Linked DNA regions of Homo sapiens: region 2 is linked to region 1. Evidence: promoter capture Hi-C in 16 types of primary human blood cells and fetal thymus (Javierre and others, 2016). All regions are on one chromosome and are shown on one strand. The core of a region is centred on a gene start or on the middle of the fragment in contact, and the rest is flanking DNA. Distances in the headings are between cores, read along the strand shown. Region 1 holds the start of COG5 (component of oligomeric golgi complex 5). Region 2 overlaps THAP5 (THAP domain containing 5).

The links. Contacts are between HindIII fragments. The CHiCAGO score rates a contact against its expected background, and 5 or more counts as called.
Region 2: a fragment that was not itself captured here is called in contact with the fragment with the promoter of COG5 in region 1 in 1 of 17 cell types (fetal thymus); the score reaches 6.6 in fetal thymus.

What each region holds. Positions count from the first base shown.
Region 1 is chr7:107,560,838-107,568,599 of GRCh38, forward strand. COG5 (component of oligomeric golgi complex 5) reads right to left here and starts at 3,083. Exons shown (of 22, transcript NM_006348.5): 1 at 2,966-3,083. The coding sequence starts at 3,059. It overlaps DUS4L-BCAP29 (DUS4L-BCAP29 readthrough), which reads left to right and starts at 3,134. Exons shown (of 13, transcript NR_163941.2): 1 at 3,134-3,372; 2 at 3,751-3,839; 3 at 6,213-6,349. It overlaps DUS4L (dihydrouridine synthase 4 like), which reads left to right and starts at 3,134. Exons shown (of 8, transcript NM_181581.3): 1 at 3,134-3,372; 2 at 3,751-3,839; 3 at 6,213-6,349. The coding sequence starts at 6,234. RefSeq lists silencers at 2,962-3,172, 3,211-3,310 and enhancers at 3,011-3,130, 3,661-4,860. The HindIII fragment of the contact is 2,647 bases long and covers 1,316-3,962 here.
Region 2 is chr7:108,560,130-108,567,891 of GRCh38, forward strand. It overlaps THAP5 (THAP domain containing 5), which reads right to left. Exons shown (of 3, transcript NM_001130475.3): 2 at 5,701-5,893; 3 at 2,003-4,976. The coding sequence ends at 4,062. Among named protein-coding and RNA genes, the nearest start is that of THAP5, 5.7 kb to the right of the region's middle. The HindIII fragment of the contact is 2,325 bases long and covers 4,024-6,348 here.

The DNA of each region.
Region 1 (7,762 bases), core at 1,833-4,332:
CCAGTAGGCAGTTAAAAATATAGTTTTATAATTCAGAAGACAGGTAAGGAGCATACTGAAACCACAGACAAGACCAGATGATTTAGGAAAAAAAAGTTTTAGAATGCACAAAAAGGCAGGAAAATGAGGAAGATAGGAAAGTGGGGGGTGGACAGAGAAAATGAAAGCAATCAAAGAGACTAAAGAGTGCTCAGGGAGAAAGAGAAACAAAAAAGAATGGCAAAAGCCAAAAGAAGGGATAAAGAAAGTAAGTATTAGTATTGTCATAGAGCTTACAAAGATCAAACACAACGGGATGTGGCATTTGAGGGCTGACAGCCTTTAAAGAGATGAATTATATAATGCTTCTCTTTTATAGTTTCCTCATTCCCATAGAGGGCATATCAGAAACACCTCACCAATTTTCATACTATGCATCTGTGCTCACCAAGCCTATCAATCCGATACTCTGTCATTGGCCAAATCCCCGATATAGTGAATCAAAGTTTCTGCTGGAAATGCTTAATTCCTCAGGAATGTTGGGGGTGGAGGGGCAACAGAGACCGCTTAATTCAGAACAAACTGAACTGACAAGTATCTACAGGAACCTGGAAAAGAGCACCTAGAGAATTAAGAATTTTTAAAAAGCACGGCACCCATAAACCGCATGAGGAAAGTATTTCAAGAAAGGAATCAAATGTTATTACAAGTTAAAGGACCAAAAAAGTGTCCATTTGTCGTATGTGCAAGAAAGTCATTGAAAACCTTGCAAAGTTACTTCAATGGCATAGATTGAGGGTGACTGAGTCCCCAGGAAACAGGAAGAAAAAATCCAGAGCAAAGTAGGAGGCACTATCCTTAGAACGGAGCAGAGACTCGGCCGGGCGTGGTGGCTCACGCCTGTAATCCCAGCACTCTGGGAGGCCAAGGCAGGCAGATCACGAGGTCAGGAGATCGAGACCATCCTGGCTAACACGGTGAAACCCCGTCTCTACTAAAAATACAAAAAATTAGCTAGGCATAGTGATGGGCGCTTGTAGTCCCAGCTTCTCAGGAGGCTGAGCCAGGAGAATGGCGTGAACCCCGGAGGCAGAGCTTGCAGTGAGCCGAGACTGCGCCACTGCACTCCAGCCTGGGCAACAGCGCGAGACTCCGTCTCAAAAAAAAAAAAGAAAGAAAGAAAGAAAGGAGCAGAGGCTCCACTTCCGTTGCAATTGAAAAGGCAAGGGAAAAAAGGTGCAACAGATGGTTATACGTTGAGGTTAAATTCATAGGTTTGATGGGCAAGAAATGGAGAAAGTTCACATCTGATGGATCCTCTTTTTCTCCCCAGGGAAGCTTAAAGTCATTTGTTGAGCTTGAAGCGAAAGGTTTGAAAAGGGTAAAGAAGATTTAAACAATCACTGTGGAGAATGGCAGAGAACCAAGGAGGAAAATACAGAAGGCAGAACTGAAGAGTATTTACCGTCCAAGAACTGATTACAATTCCTGAAATACATCCTACTGAAACATATATCCAATGTTCCACTGTTCACCTGGGGAAGTCCTGTCTACAGTTTAAAACGTCTCCACCTAGAAAGCCTTTTCTGACATTTCCTAACCAGTTTCCAACCCCCAGTTATCATTCTCCTCTGTATTAATGCTCTACTTTATATGCAATCCTACTGCTATCTTACATCACTATATTACAGCACCTACCTTTATAGTCTACAAGATTATTTCCTCTACTAGATGGTGAACTACTTGAGGGCAAAAATTGCACGTGTATCAGGAGCAACTGCAAATATATCAGGGTCTCTGCCTTGTATCTAAAGTTTAAATTCAGTTTAGCCAAGTTTTAGACAGAGACCCGGTCCTAGAGTTTCCAACATGAAATAGTTCAGAAAACATCATTGCTTTTGACAAAAGTACATAAATTATCATGAAAAGGCACGTAATTCAGGATGACAATAAAATATTTAACAGTCAGAGAAAATAAACAATAATTTGGAACTTTATTTCATTTATTACCCACTTCGGTCTTCAAATGTGTGCATGTGCTTCTAACTGCGATGATGAATTTAAAAAACATTCTGCACCTACTGTATGCAAGATACTGCTATTCACACTGTGGGATATTAAAAAAAGTTTGCAATACAGAAGAGATTAAAACAAGTATACAAATGATTTTAGTACAAGGTAGAATGCGATGGCCACTAGAGAAAAAATTAAGAACAGGTGAGAAGGGCTTTATTTTTATGCTTATAAATGTGAACTTTATTCTGAAGGATAAGAGATTCGGGACATGGTAACTGGATTGACACAACTGAATATGCTTTTCAAGTATATTATATCTAACTTTTCTTATTTTGGGCAACTTCTCTCCAAACTGACTAGCAATAAAATCTGACTGCTAGATTCTGTACAAATGGTTAATCCCAACCTGAACAAATGTCTCAAACCCTCCCCCACGTGTCACTGTAGATAACTGCCTCATAAAGGAGGAAAAAAAAAACCAGCCTGTAAGAGGGGTCACCTGTACAGTCCATTTGTTAAAGGAGTAAGCGTTTCCAGCTCTACTTTAAAACAAGGCCCTATTTCATTATGCGTCTGCCGTCTGTTCTAGAGCTTACACTTTTGAAGAGCTCGAACGCTACACCCCTTCGTCAAGAACTGCGGCAGCAGCCGGTGGCTGCCAACGCGGTCCACAGGGTTTGGGCTCCCGAAACTTCAGGGAAGCTGGAGGCATGGGGGGGGGGGGGGTCGAGTTGAAATGAGGAACACACAGAAACCAAGTGTCCCCAAGACTCCAGAAAAGAGGGAGCCAGTCCCAGAGTAAATAGGTTGGCTAGAACAGTACCCAAGCCAGGGGGCCGGGCGGAGGGGAGTGGTCACGTCCAGACTGGAAAACTTTCTGCAAAGCAACGGGTTGGGTCCACCTCGCTGTCCAGGTGCGGAGCAGCGCAGACCCCCAACCCCACGACCTGGTCAGACCCCGTCTCCTTACCGTCCTGCAGAAGTTCCCGGACTGTAGCTGCAGCCGCTCCAGAGCCTCGAGCTCCGAGGCCAGCTACAGCGACGCTGCCGCCGCCACCTTCCATGTTGGCAGGTGCCGGGTTGATGTCGTCAGCAGCAGAACGGCTCCGCCCAGGTGGTGACGCAGAATCCCGGCGCCGCCCGCCCACCCAGCCCATGGCTCCAGGCCCACCTGGCGAACTGACTCTCAGCCCGCGCCTGGGCTAAGCCTGGCTAGGAGCCGCGCAGGTACTCGAGCAGTGGGCGCCCAGGGTCCGAGTGCTCTGCGCCCAGCGCACCGAGGGAGCCAAGGCCGTCGGGCCGGCGCTTTCAGCTGTCTCTCGCAGCAGCTCAGGGCCGCGCCCCCTGGGCTGGCGTCGTGCCCTAGCCAAGGAGAAGGTGGGCACCGGAACGTGGCCGCAGCGCTTATCTGTGAAGCAAGTATTAAACCTCAGAACAGGGGCCGCGCGGCGTAAGGCAGGAGAGCAGAGCGGAGGTTTCAGGGAGCTTCGTTTGCCCTCCACACTCACAAGAGTCACGCGTTAGTTGCTACACAGCTTTATCTGTTCCACGCCTTGATTGGCACTCCTGGGGTAATAAAAGCCCGCAGGAAATGCTTGGGAAGAAAAGTTGCTGGGGATGAACAGTGAAGAGAATTAGGGAGAGTCGATGAAGAAGGAAGTCTGAACCATAAAAGGACCAATAAAACTCACTGTCTCTACCCTCCTTCCTTCCCATGAGACCTTTGACCTTTTGCCTTTTCTACTTCTTCCTCAGTTTCAGTCACGTGCCAGACTTTTTCTTAATTACAAACTGATAGATGGTCCACATCTCAACTAACAGTATTGACGCTGTAAGAGCATCAGGTTGGTTCCCATTGTATCTTCTTTACTAATACGTTCGCGTTTTTGACCTAGATTTCTTTCTTCTAAGATAAATACTGATAAATTAACAGGGTCAGGCAACCACAAGTATGCAAGACAGTCTTAAGCTTCTTCGCAAAAAGAAGCTGGAAGATGACTTTTTCATTTTGTACAGTAGGTATGTATCCAGGAAACCAATTTTATCCAGTTCCAGAGCTACGTGGTTTTCTACATTCTGTTTCAAAAAGGTGCTATTACTTATCCTGTGCTTATCGCTGTTCTAAGTATTTTATAACTCAATGCATTTCATACTCATAACACCTCAGGTAAGCAAGTCTTATGCTACACTGCATTATGCTCTCTTTGTCTCAGAGGATTTTCCCTAGTATGTAAGATCTTAGTCATGATGGGAATAGGGGTGATTCATTCATTACTTGTGAATTAGGAATTGTTTTTCCTTCCTTGGCTTTATTCCCCCCAGTGGAAGATTTTAGAAGAGTGAGTAATATTCATTCATACAGCGAAAGTTTTGACCCCTCTACTCTGCATGCTCTCATGAGTTTACAAACATAAGACTCAATCCATATTCTAAAAGGAGTTAATAGGTAAGGTAGGAACCCATTTAAACAAACAATTGTACCAGGTGCTTTGGAATCTTTGGATTTACTTATTCCAGTAATTCCAAGCTTAGCTGCACATTGAAATCACCTGAAGAGCTTTAATAAAAACACTGATGCCTGCATCCTGAGCCCAGACGTTTGGATTTAATTGGTCTAGGGTATGGCTTGGGCATGCTAATTCTTAAAAGCTCCTCGGGTCATTGTAGTGTACAACTAAGGTAGAAAGCTACTGATTGTTTTGTTTTGTTGAGTTGGGGTCTAGCTCTGTTACCCAGGCTGGAGTGCAGTGGCAGGATCGTGGCTCACTGCAGCCTCAACCTCCTGGGCTCAAGGGATCCTCCTGCCCAAGCTTCTGGAGTAGTTGGGATCACAGTCGCTTGCTACCACGCCCAGCTGATTTTTATAATTTTTTTAGAGATGGGGGTCTCACTATATTGCCCAAGCTGGTCTCAAACTCCTGGCCTTAAGCAAGCCTCCCACCTTGGCCTCCCAAAATGCTGAGTTTACAGGTGTGAGCCCAGTCCCCTGAAACCTACTGATTTATTCTTTCAGCAAATAAATATTGAGGCCTTCTGTATGCCATTTACTATGACTGCAGGAGTGGATAAAAATGAAGTAATTCTTGCTAAAATCACTAATGACCTTGTTGCCATTGCGCTTTATTTTTGCCTTACTTTGATGTTTAAGATACCTATCCCCTCCTTCCTTCATAATGGTCTCTCTCGTTTTCTGAGTATCACTCTTTAGGTTTATTCCTCCCAGCTCCAAAGTTCATCTTCAGTCTCTTTTGCTCTCCCCTTTTCCTCTGTTACTTAAATATTGGTGCTTCCAGCGGTTTCTTGCAAGATCCTGACATCCTTAAGTACCTTGGCTATTTTTAATTTCAACTCCTTGCCTAAAGGTTAAAGACTCTAAAGTTTGAGCAATTAGACCATTCTAAAGTTGGCCCATATCTGATTCTTTTTTTTGTTGTTGTTATTTTCTGCTTCATTTTTCCTTCATACATACCTGTTTCTAAGTTACTGAGGCCAAGGACTGGAATATGAAAAGTAGCCAACACTGTGAAATAGTAGGATTTTAAGTATAGCAAATGTAAAACATTTACAAACTCCATAATTTCATCACTCGTACCTGTACCTCTTGGGGTATAAAAGTGATTTACAATGCAATTGTAGAATTATAATTGAAATTTTCACTAGATAATATCACATTAAAATTTTTAAAAATAATTAACGTTTGTTTATCTTCTGATTCACAGACAGAACAGGATTCAAGAATTACAATAAAAGCACCAGCATATCTTTTGAAACACTGACTACTTAAGAGTTGCTCTATTAATGCCATTTAACTTTCCTGAATAAAACAAGATATTTCCAAATGCCAGTCGAGTATCATATATAAAATAATTCAAACCAAATTTCTTGGCTTACCAATCCCAACAAAGTAACATGTAAAAAATTTTTAAATAACATGAAAACTTACAACATGGTAAACTAGGGAAAAAAAAAAAATCTCGTTTTCTGCATCTTGTGTTTCCACAACTATCTTGGGTAGTTTTCCACATCTATTTATCTTACAAATAGAGGCAGCATTCTATAGTATCATATTGGATACTGTGAAAATAAGCTATTAATAAAAAAATTTCTGAGCCCACAAGCCTGATAAAAAATATATGTTGTTGGCAGTTGAAATTGTTAGAATGGAATTAATATAGTGAAAACATATTTTCTCTATACAAGCTTATTGTCTTTTTCAGATTTGAAACATATCTGTATTAATGAAGAGTGACTGCATGCAAACGACAATATGTCAGGAAAGAAAAAAAGATCCCATAGAAATGTTTCATTCTGGACAGCTGGTAAAAGTCTGTGCCCCAATGGTTCGATATTCAAAGTAAGTGTTGCAAAATGATTAATGAACTAAGATGAAATTTCCCTTTTATGCTCTGACTTTTTAAAAGTACTGTAAGACCACCCACCATATGGGAACTTCAAACTCTTAGCTTTGGAATCATGACTTAGAATTGAGTCATGATGCTACTACTTGCCTAGTATATATGTGATCCTGAGTAAACAATTAACTTCTCTGAGCTGCACTTTTTATATCTATAAAAATGGTGGTGGTTGTAACTCCTACCTATAAGTATATAATGGATATTAAATAGATATAAGTATTGATGTATAGATTTTTATGTGAACTTAAGTCTTGGGACAAATAGGAGTGCAATTATGGGTCCTAAGGTAGTTGTGTGTTCAGTTTTCGAAGAAATATTTCTTCGTATCTTTTGCTCATCTTCTAATTGGATTGTTTGCTCTTTTACTATTGAGTTTTTTTAGAAGTTTGTTATAAAATATACGTAACATAAAATTTACCTCTCGATCATTTTTAAGTATACAGTTCAGCAGTGTTAATTACATTCACATTGTTGTGCATCTGATCTCTAAAACTCTTTTCATCTTAGAAGATGGAAATTCTATCACATTAAACTGTGACTCCCCATTCCACTGTTCCTCACAGCAGCCCCTGGCAACCATTATTCTACTTTCTCCCTCTATGAACTTCACTACTCTAGGTACCTCATATAAGTCTTATACGTATTTGTTCAGAACTGGATTTATTTTGCTAATATTTTATGCAGCATAACATCCTCAAGGTTCATTCATGTTGTAGCATATATCAGACTTGTTCCTTTTTAAGGCTGAATAATATTCCATTTTATGTATATTTTGTTCATTCATCTGTTGATATCCATTCATATATTGATAGAACACAAGATAACTTCCACCTTTTGGCTACTGCAAATAATACTGTCATGAACTATGGGTGTACAAATACCCATATACAAATACCCATGGTTCGTAACAGGTCTCTGAGACCCTGCTTTCAATTCTTTTTGACTATGTACCCAGATGTAGAATTGCTGGATCATATGGTGATTCTATGTTTAATTTTTTGAGCAACTACTGTACTGCTTTCCATAGCAGCTGCACCATGTTACCTTACCACCAGCAGTGAACAAGAGTTTTAATTTCTCCACATCCTCATCAACACTTGTTATGTTCTGGGAGTTTTTATTTTATTATTATAATCATCCTAATGGGTGTGAAGTGGTATCTCATTGCAGTTTTAATTTGCATTTCCCTAATGATTAATGATGCTGAACATCTTTTTGTGTGTTTATTGGCCATTTGTATGTTGTCTTTGTAGAAGTATCTATTCAAGTGCTTTTGTCCATTTGTTTGTTTTCTTGTTTTCTATTATACTCTAGATATATATTCTGCTTTGTCAGATGTGTGATTTGCACGT
Region 2 (7,762 bases), core at 3,936-6,435, 1.0 Mb after region 1:
GTACAGTACTGCCTGGTTCTTACTTTCTCTGATGGCTTAGTAGGCCACTTCTTTAGTTACAAGCTCAAGGCAAGGCATGAAGGACCTTGTTTGCAAAGGAGAGAATGATGTACAAATGATGTCATTCTCATATAGTTCATATTTTACAGCAGCACAGAACTAAAGCAGTTACCTGCTTGCTCACCCACAGCCTCTTTTTCAAAGGGAAACTGCTCCTTTTCAAGGCTTTACTGAGGTAGATGAGTCTGTTCTATACCATGTGACCCTTCCCCATCATATTCACTGGATGCAACTGCAGCCTATAAGACAGGACCCAAAGGATGCCAACTCACAGGTTTACTACAGACCCACTGGCTTAAAAATATATGCAAGGTCCAGTTGGATCCCTCTTTTGGAAATCTGGAATTTAAAAACCGAATGACTGAGCTAATTAACAGAGGAAGCTGAAGATTCATAATGTAGAGAAACTTAGGGGCCTATTTGTAAACTGAGATATAAGGTTTGGCTGGGAGAGAGAGTTTGAAACAGATGCCATTCAGGAGGCAGTTGACATGAGGGAGCCTCTTTTCCAGATGTCTTCCAGAACCAATTACTATGGGGCACAACTGTACTGCAACTTTTTTTCTTTTGTGACAGGGTCTCACTCTGTTGCCCAGGCTGGCGTGCAGTGGCGCAGTCATGGCTCACTGCAGCCTTGACCTAGGCTCAAGAGATCCTCCCACTTCAGCCTCCTGAGTAGCTAGGACTAAAAGCACCGACTACCATGCCGAGCTAATTTTTAAATTTTTTGTAGAGATGGGATCTATGTTGCCCAGGCTGGTCTCAAACTCTTGGCCTCAGGTGATCCTCCTGCTTTGGGCCCCCAGAGCGTTGAGATTACAGGTGTGAGCCACTGTGCCTGCCTGTACCGCAACTTCTGTGTTTGGATTCCCGAGACCCTGGTTTGAGCCTTTCAGTTCTGTTCTTCCCTGTTTCCTTTCTTGAGCTGGATTGAGTTTCTGTTCCTTGCAACCAAAAGAACCCTAACTCAAATCCTCTCTTGCATTAAAATGTTGCTTTGGTCACTGACTGAAACCTTAGGCATGTGCCATGGTAGTGATGAGAATGAAACACATTCTAAATTTGGAAACAACATACCATTTTTTTTTTTTAAAGACACGGTCTCACTTTGATGCCCAGGCTGGAATGCAGTGGCACGATCTCAGCCCATTGTAGGCTCTACCTCCTGAGCTCAAGCAATCCTCCCACCTCAGACTCCTGAGTAGCTGGGAATACAGGCACGCACCACCATGCCTGGCTGATTTTTTTTTTTTTTTTTTTCTAGAGACAGGGTTTCACCATGTTGGCTAGGCTAGTCTTTAACTCCAAAGTTCAAGCAATCTGTCTACCTGGTCCTCCCAAAGTGCTGGGGTAACAGGCATGAGCCACTGCAACTGGCAGGATGAGCTAATGATTGTTTTGATTTTCTAAATGAAGCATGTGATGAGATCCTCATCTTGGGCAAGCGGGAAGGAGAGGCAGGAAAGGAAGGGAGGAGTGAGAGACAGAATTTGAGTGTGGGGTTATGAACTTACTAGAAAAATACAGTAACACTGCTGGGCTCATCTGATTTGTGGTCATGAATTTATAATCAAGTCTGTCCAATCGTGATTTTTTTCTATTCTACCGGCTCTTCTGATGTAGGAAGAGAAAAGGCAAAGAGATATTTGAATTCAACCAGGAATGTAATTTAGGCAAGTGAGAACAATAGGCAACAGAGCAATGTTGTTCAAAGTTTTACCGGAGAATGATTATTATGGTCCAGAAAGTCAGAGTAAGGATGGACGTGAATACAGAAAGGGTACTGTTTTTCAGATTTTGAAATATCTGCAGTACACTTAACAGCTGAGCATCCCCAATTCAAAAATCTGAAGACTGAAATGCCCTAGTGAGCATTTCCTTTGCGTGTCATGTTTGTGCTCAAAAAGTTTCAGATTTTGGAGCATTTTGGATTTTCAGATAGTCAACTTTTACTTATAATTTATTAAAGAAATAAAGCTAGTTTAAATTTTTTCTGAGGAACCTGTAACTTTCAGAAAATTACTACAATGTACACTGTTGAAACTTAACATATCATTACTTTATTGTGACTCAAGATTATTTTCATCTGTATTAAATTAAGTATTTGCAAAATGCAACATAGGAATACTTAATAACACTGTAATAACTCTATCATCTCCCCATAATTTATGCAAAAATTTTAAGTTTTTCCCCCATCGTCACCTAAGACATTTCTAATCTTTTATAATTAGTTGACTCACTTTCATATAGTACCAATTAATATTAGCCTAATGAAACTAAGTCAAATATGGCCAAAAATAATCATCATGCATTTACAAAACAATATTATTTGCCAGTCAGAGTCAACTTTTATTGAGCACCTCCTATATTCCAGAACCAAAAACATGTTTGTTCCTTACAAAATTCTCAAAGCCACTCTTTAAGGTAAGTAATAGTACGTTCTACTTAACAGATGAAAAAACTAAGAATCAGACTGATACAACTTCCTCAACATCATAGGCAGAAACATAATTATACTGACTGCCAATTTTAAGAAAACATCTATTTGTTACATTTGTGTCATTACTACAAAATCTTTGCTTTTACAGTTTTCTTAAAATCATGTGAATATAAACAGTATTTTTATTTACATTACCATTACTTCTCTTTTCTAAGAGAAATTCTTTGTCTCCCTAAGATCATGACCACTTATGTATAATTTCTTGCTTATAAATTTTAATAAAATATACGTAAGTGGGAATGTACAGTATTAAGTATTACTCTATTATTCTGGAATTTAACAATGAATAAGCACATATTTTAAAGGCCACACCTACTAAGAAACAGATACAAACTGTAATTTCTAAAATATATTTAAAATTAACCTCATTAAAATTTTTGGTTTATAAGTTTAACTGTATAAATACAGAAAGTTTAGCTTAGATGACTATGTATTTGATGGTTAGCCACATATAAGTTACCGAAATACATATTCTTTCAAGTTTGAAGTACCTCTCCTAAGAACTGGGCTAATGGGTGGTTCCTTAGTTTAGTTCAACTGGAATAAAATTATAAAAGTTCTATCTTGGCCAGGCGCGGTGGCTCACGCCTGTAATCCCAGCACTTTGGGAGGCCAAGGTAGGTGGATCACCTGGGGTCAGGAGTTCGAGGCCAGCCCGGCCAACATGGTGAAACCCCGTTTCTACTAAAAATACAAAAATAAGCTGGATGTGGTGGTGTGTGCCTATAATCCCAGCTACTCGGGAAGCTGAGGCAGAAGAATCACTTGAACCCGGGAGGCAGAGGCTGCAGTGAGCCAAGATCAGGCCACTGCACTCCAGCCTGGGTTACAGAGTGAGACTCCATCTCAAAAAAAAAAAAAAAAAAAAAAAAAAAAAAGTTTATCTTCCTTTCTATTACAGATAATATAACTGTAATATGTAACTATAGCCAAAAGGTCAAAGACCACAGAATTCAATAAATACTGAAAATAATACATGGTTAATATCATCAAATTCTAGCCAACTTCTAGTATTACGTATATATTATCTTACAGAAAATGTGTTCTAATAGAATTATCTTAATAAAAAGGGAAGGGACTATAAATAACCAATTACAAATCCAGTAAGTGCTTATTTTACAAATTAGGGACTGAGGCACAATCATAAGTAACTTGCCCAAGTCATATGCCAGTGGTAGAACCAGGACTGATTCCTGAACCTGACTTCTAGTCTGTGCTCTTTGAACACTTCTTTGTTTTCTCATGTTATAACTGAATCCTTCTATGTGCTAAATTTTAATTTGGAAAATTATCAAGTAATAAAACTGCTTTTCTCTCCAGCCCAACTCTCTGGTTTTTCTTAAATAAGTATTACAAGAATAGGATACAGTTCATAACTTTACAACACTCTCATAGGTTCATTAAGATGAGAACTTTATACAGGAAACAGTTCACTTTACATGTAGTTTGGTTTGGCTGGAAAAAGCTTATTTAACAGCCATAGTTTTAAAACCTAGTTATTCTATATCATAGTGACTTCATATGTTGTAAAATGGTTTTCTATAATCTTGACGTTTTCTTCAGATAGCCAGTTTTCCTGCTTTAGCTGCCTTATAAGAGCTTCCAAAGACTTCAATCTACCTAGAGTTTGTTGCTCTTTTAACTCTAGAAGAGTTATCTTTGAATGTAGCTTAGAGACTTTCTGCCAAAGATGTTCCTTATTTATATCTTGTCTGCAGTAAGAATGTTCGATTTGTAAAACTTCTGTCCCATAGTCTACATCCTTATACAAGGAGTCTTCAATGTCTGTGTCTTCCATTTCCGTGGTTTCTTTTTGTGCAGATATAAAAGAATTAACTGAGGGTTTAGAATTTTCAGCAGGTACAAAAATGGCAATAACAGATTCTTTATTTGTGTTTAATTCTTCAACTGTTTGATTAATTGTGCTGAATAAGAATGGATTTTCCTGTGCTGACTTTATTTCCATGGAATTACTTGTAAAGTTTGGATTAGCAAGATGACTGGTAGTTACTTCAAGAACTTCTTGAGTTTCCAAAGATTGATGAATACTTTCTGAATTTGAAGTTGTCAAAGTAATAGTTGTAGAATTTAGATTCTCAAAACATGTGTGAAAACCACCTCTACCTGTATCTTGGTTAACTGATGTTTCCAAGGTAGATTCTGGTTTCCCAGTATGTTGTTTAACTAGATTAAGAGTTAACATGTTATTTTGTATACTTCCTGTTTTGGGAGCTGGTGGCTTTACCAAGGAAGATGAATGAAGTAATTCTGGATGTTGATGGGGCACATCTGTGTTAACTATATTTTTCTTTGTCTCATTTAATACAAATGATTCTTCTGACTTGGCTTTTGGGCATACTTCTTTCTCATCTTCCAAGTTTTTCTTCTGGGATTTTTTTTTAGAAGGGTCTTTTCCCTAGAAAATAATATTTTCATGTTCTGAAAAAGATGACTTTTATTGGCTTATTATGCTAGTGCTATTTAATTATAATATTGAGTAGTACACTGGCCAAGCAAATTTATTTAGTTAAAAAAAAGCTCAGAGTATATATACCTTAAAGTATTTTCTAAAAAGCATTAATCCCATTCAATATACGGCAGAAACATTTCAGATCATTCAAAAGACTAGTATATTGGGAGGCCAAGGCAGGCAGATCAACTGAGGTCAGGAGTTCAAGACCAGCCTGGCTAACATGGTGAAACCCCCATCCCTACTAAAAATACAAAAATTAGCCGGGCGTGGTGGCAGGCGCCTGTAATCCCAGCTACTCAGGAGGCTGAGGCAAGAGAATGGCTTGAACCCAGGAGGCAGAGGTTGCAGTGAGCTGAGATCGCACCACTGCACTCTAGCCAGGGTGACAGAATGAGACCTTGTCTCAAACAAAAAAAGTATAAAAAATAAAACTCATGAACTTGTGTTAATAACTTAATAATGTATATCTCTTGCTTCTCTTAAGCTGTGCTTCATGAGTTTAATTTTTTTTAATTATCACTTTTAGTAAAAGCACAAATTAGTGCTCCCTTTTTTCCAAGTATCTGTTTACCCAAGTTATAGTTCCCTCTTACTCTCCCACCTGATCACCTGCCACCCTGAAATCTGCCACTCTGCTCAGCATTACCCCTCTCCCATACTGCAATACCTGATTGTCTTCAGGCAAAGAAAATATTGTTGGAACTGCAGTTTGTTTTAAATATCGAATACCCCATCTGATGTCAAGAGAGTCAGGAGTAAAATGGTCACTACATAGAAACTGGTATTTACTGGGAACCCATGAATCTCGCTTCATATTCTTTAACCACTTTTCCAGTCTTTCTTTGTCATGTAGAGGAAATCTGGAATTTAAAAAAAAAAGAAGAAAAAAGGAAAAACTTTGCTATATTTTTACAATTTTGCCAAATTCCCACCCTATATATCTGGGTAACCTATGCATCAAGTAAGTACTACAAGAGGAAGGCAACCATCCCTACCAAATAAGAGCATCTTCATGACAACTAGTACCATTATCATCTCTGCAGTAAGAGGCCTAAGATGTAAGACATGTAGCCAAGGCTCTTATCTGATAAGAGCTGAACATAATTCAGAGTCCCTTCAAGTAAAATATATGTGTTCCTATAAAGGACAAAATCTATTTGTATTTTCTATGGATTATGTTCCATTTTTATATTGCTGTACAGTTTGCCTAGAACTAGAAAAAAGGTTTGTATAAATTATAAATTCCTATTCAAATGTATTTCATAATACCACCACATGTCAAATGGCTTGTTGTCTATAATTCAAGGCAGTATTAAGCTTTACAATCTTATTTAATATTTAAAAAATAAGATGTTATTTCAAACAAATGATTTAGCTGAAAAAGTACTGAAAATATTCTCTTTACTAGCATCATCTTTAATTCTATCTATAAGTAATCTAGTCTAATAGTACTACACTTCTATAACCAATGAACTGGGAACTCCAAATTTCAAGTTCTGAAGGAGAAACTGATAGAAGAAAAGAATGGAACATGTTAAAAGGGACAGTCTCAGATATTTTATATGAAACAAATCAAATACAAATGGCAAGACAGCGCTGTATACATTTTGTTCCTGTACCTGACAATAACCTGGATTTAAAGTTGGTGCTAACATTACAGTGTATGGCAGAATTTGATAGAAAATTTTTCCTATCAATCTAAAAAGGTTTGGGTCAAGGTATACAAAACAATATTTGAAAATGGTTTATATTCCATTTGGTACTTTTCCAAGAACAGAGTCCAAGACACCACATAATTTCCTGTTTTTAAAAATAGTAACAATATAAGGTTTCTCATATAAAATGTAGCTGTTATACACTCCCTTCCCGCAATCCCAATCATTTAGCTTATGTTTTGTAGTAGCATCATTTTTTCCCCCTAAATTCTGGTAACTTTTTAAGATGCCATGGAAAGTCTGGGTACTCTGTAAGATATAACTTTTAATCCTGATATCCTCATACGGAAAAAAATCAGATAAACTACCTTTGGAAATTCCAACCACAGAAGCAATATTAATCATGTTTTAAAAATATTTTAACTTTACAAATATTAGGTTGTAAGTATGACAAGCATAACCAGAAAAGGAATTTTAAAGGCAGACAAATTTTCTTTTAGAGGACCTGACTTCTTCTGGCCATTGGTAAATTCATTTCTTTTGTTACAACTGAAATGAGAATAGGCCTTTTACAATAATGCTTTTTACTGTAAATTCATGTATATGGATGCTGTTTGCAAATTATTTCCATTGTACCTATATGCTAAGTTATCAACTCATTAAAAAAAACTTTGTGAATATCCTTATTGTTTACTGGATTGTATTGCTTCAATAGGTAAATCTCTAAGAAATCTTGATCATGTTTCCTGAATAAATTATGTCTTTATATTGGTTCAATTCATTTGATAATTTTGTTTCATTGTCTTATGTAATTCCCCAAAAGGCATAAGATAATCACAGTACAAACTGGACACTATATTAACTGAATTCCCAAATTCATATACATTTAAACTACAGTTTGCTGTAGTGTTAACATGAGCAAATTCAATTCAAGTTTGACGCTACTGGAGAATAAAACTAATTCAATTTTTATTTTGTGGATTACACAAGAAAATTTTTTAAAAACCCTAGAAATAATACAACTTTTACTAAATTCACATTTTCAGTGAAAAAAATCTTTACAATTCACTTGCA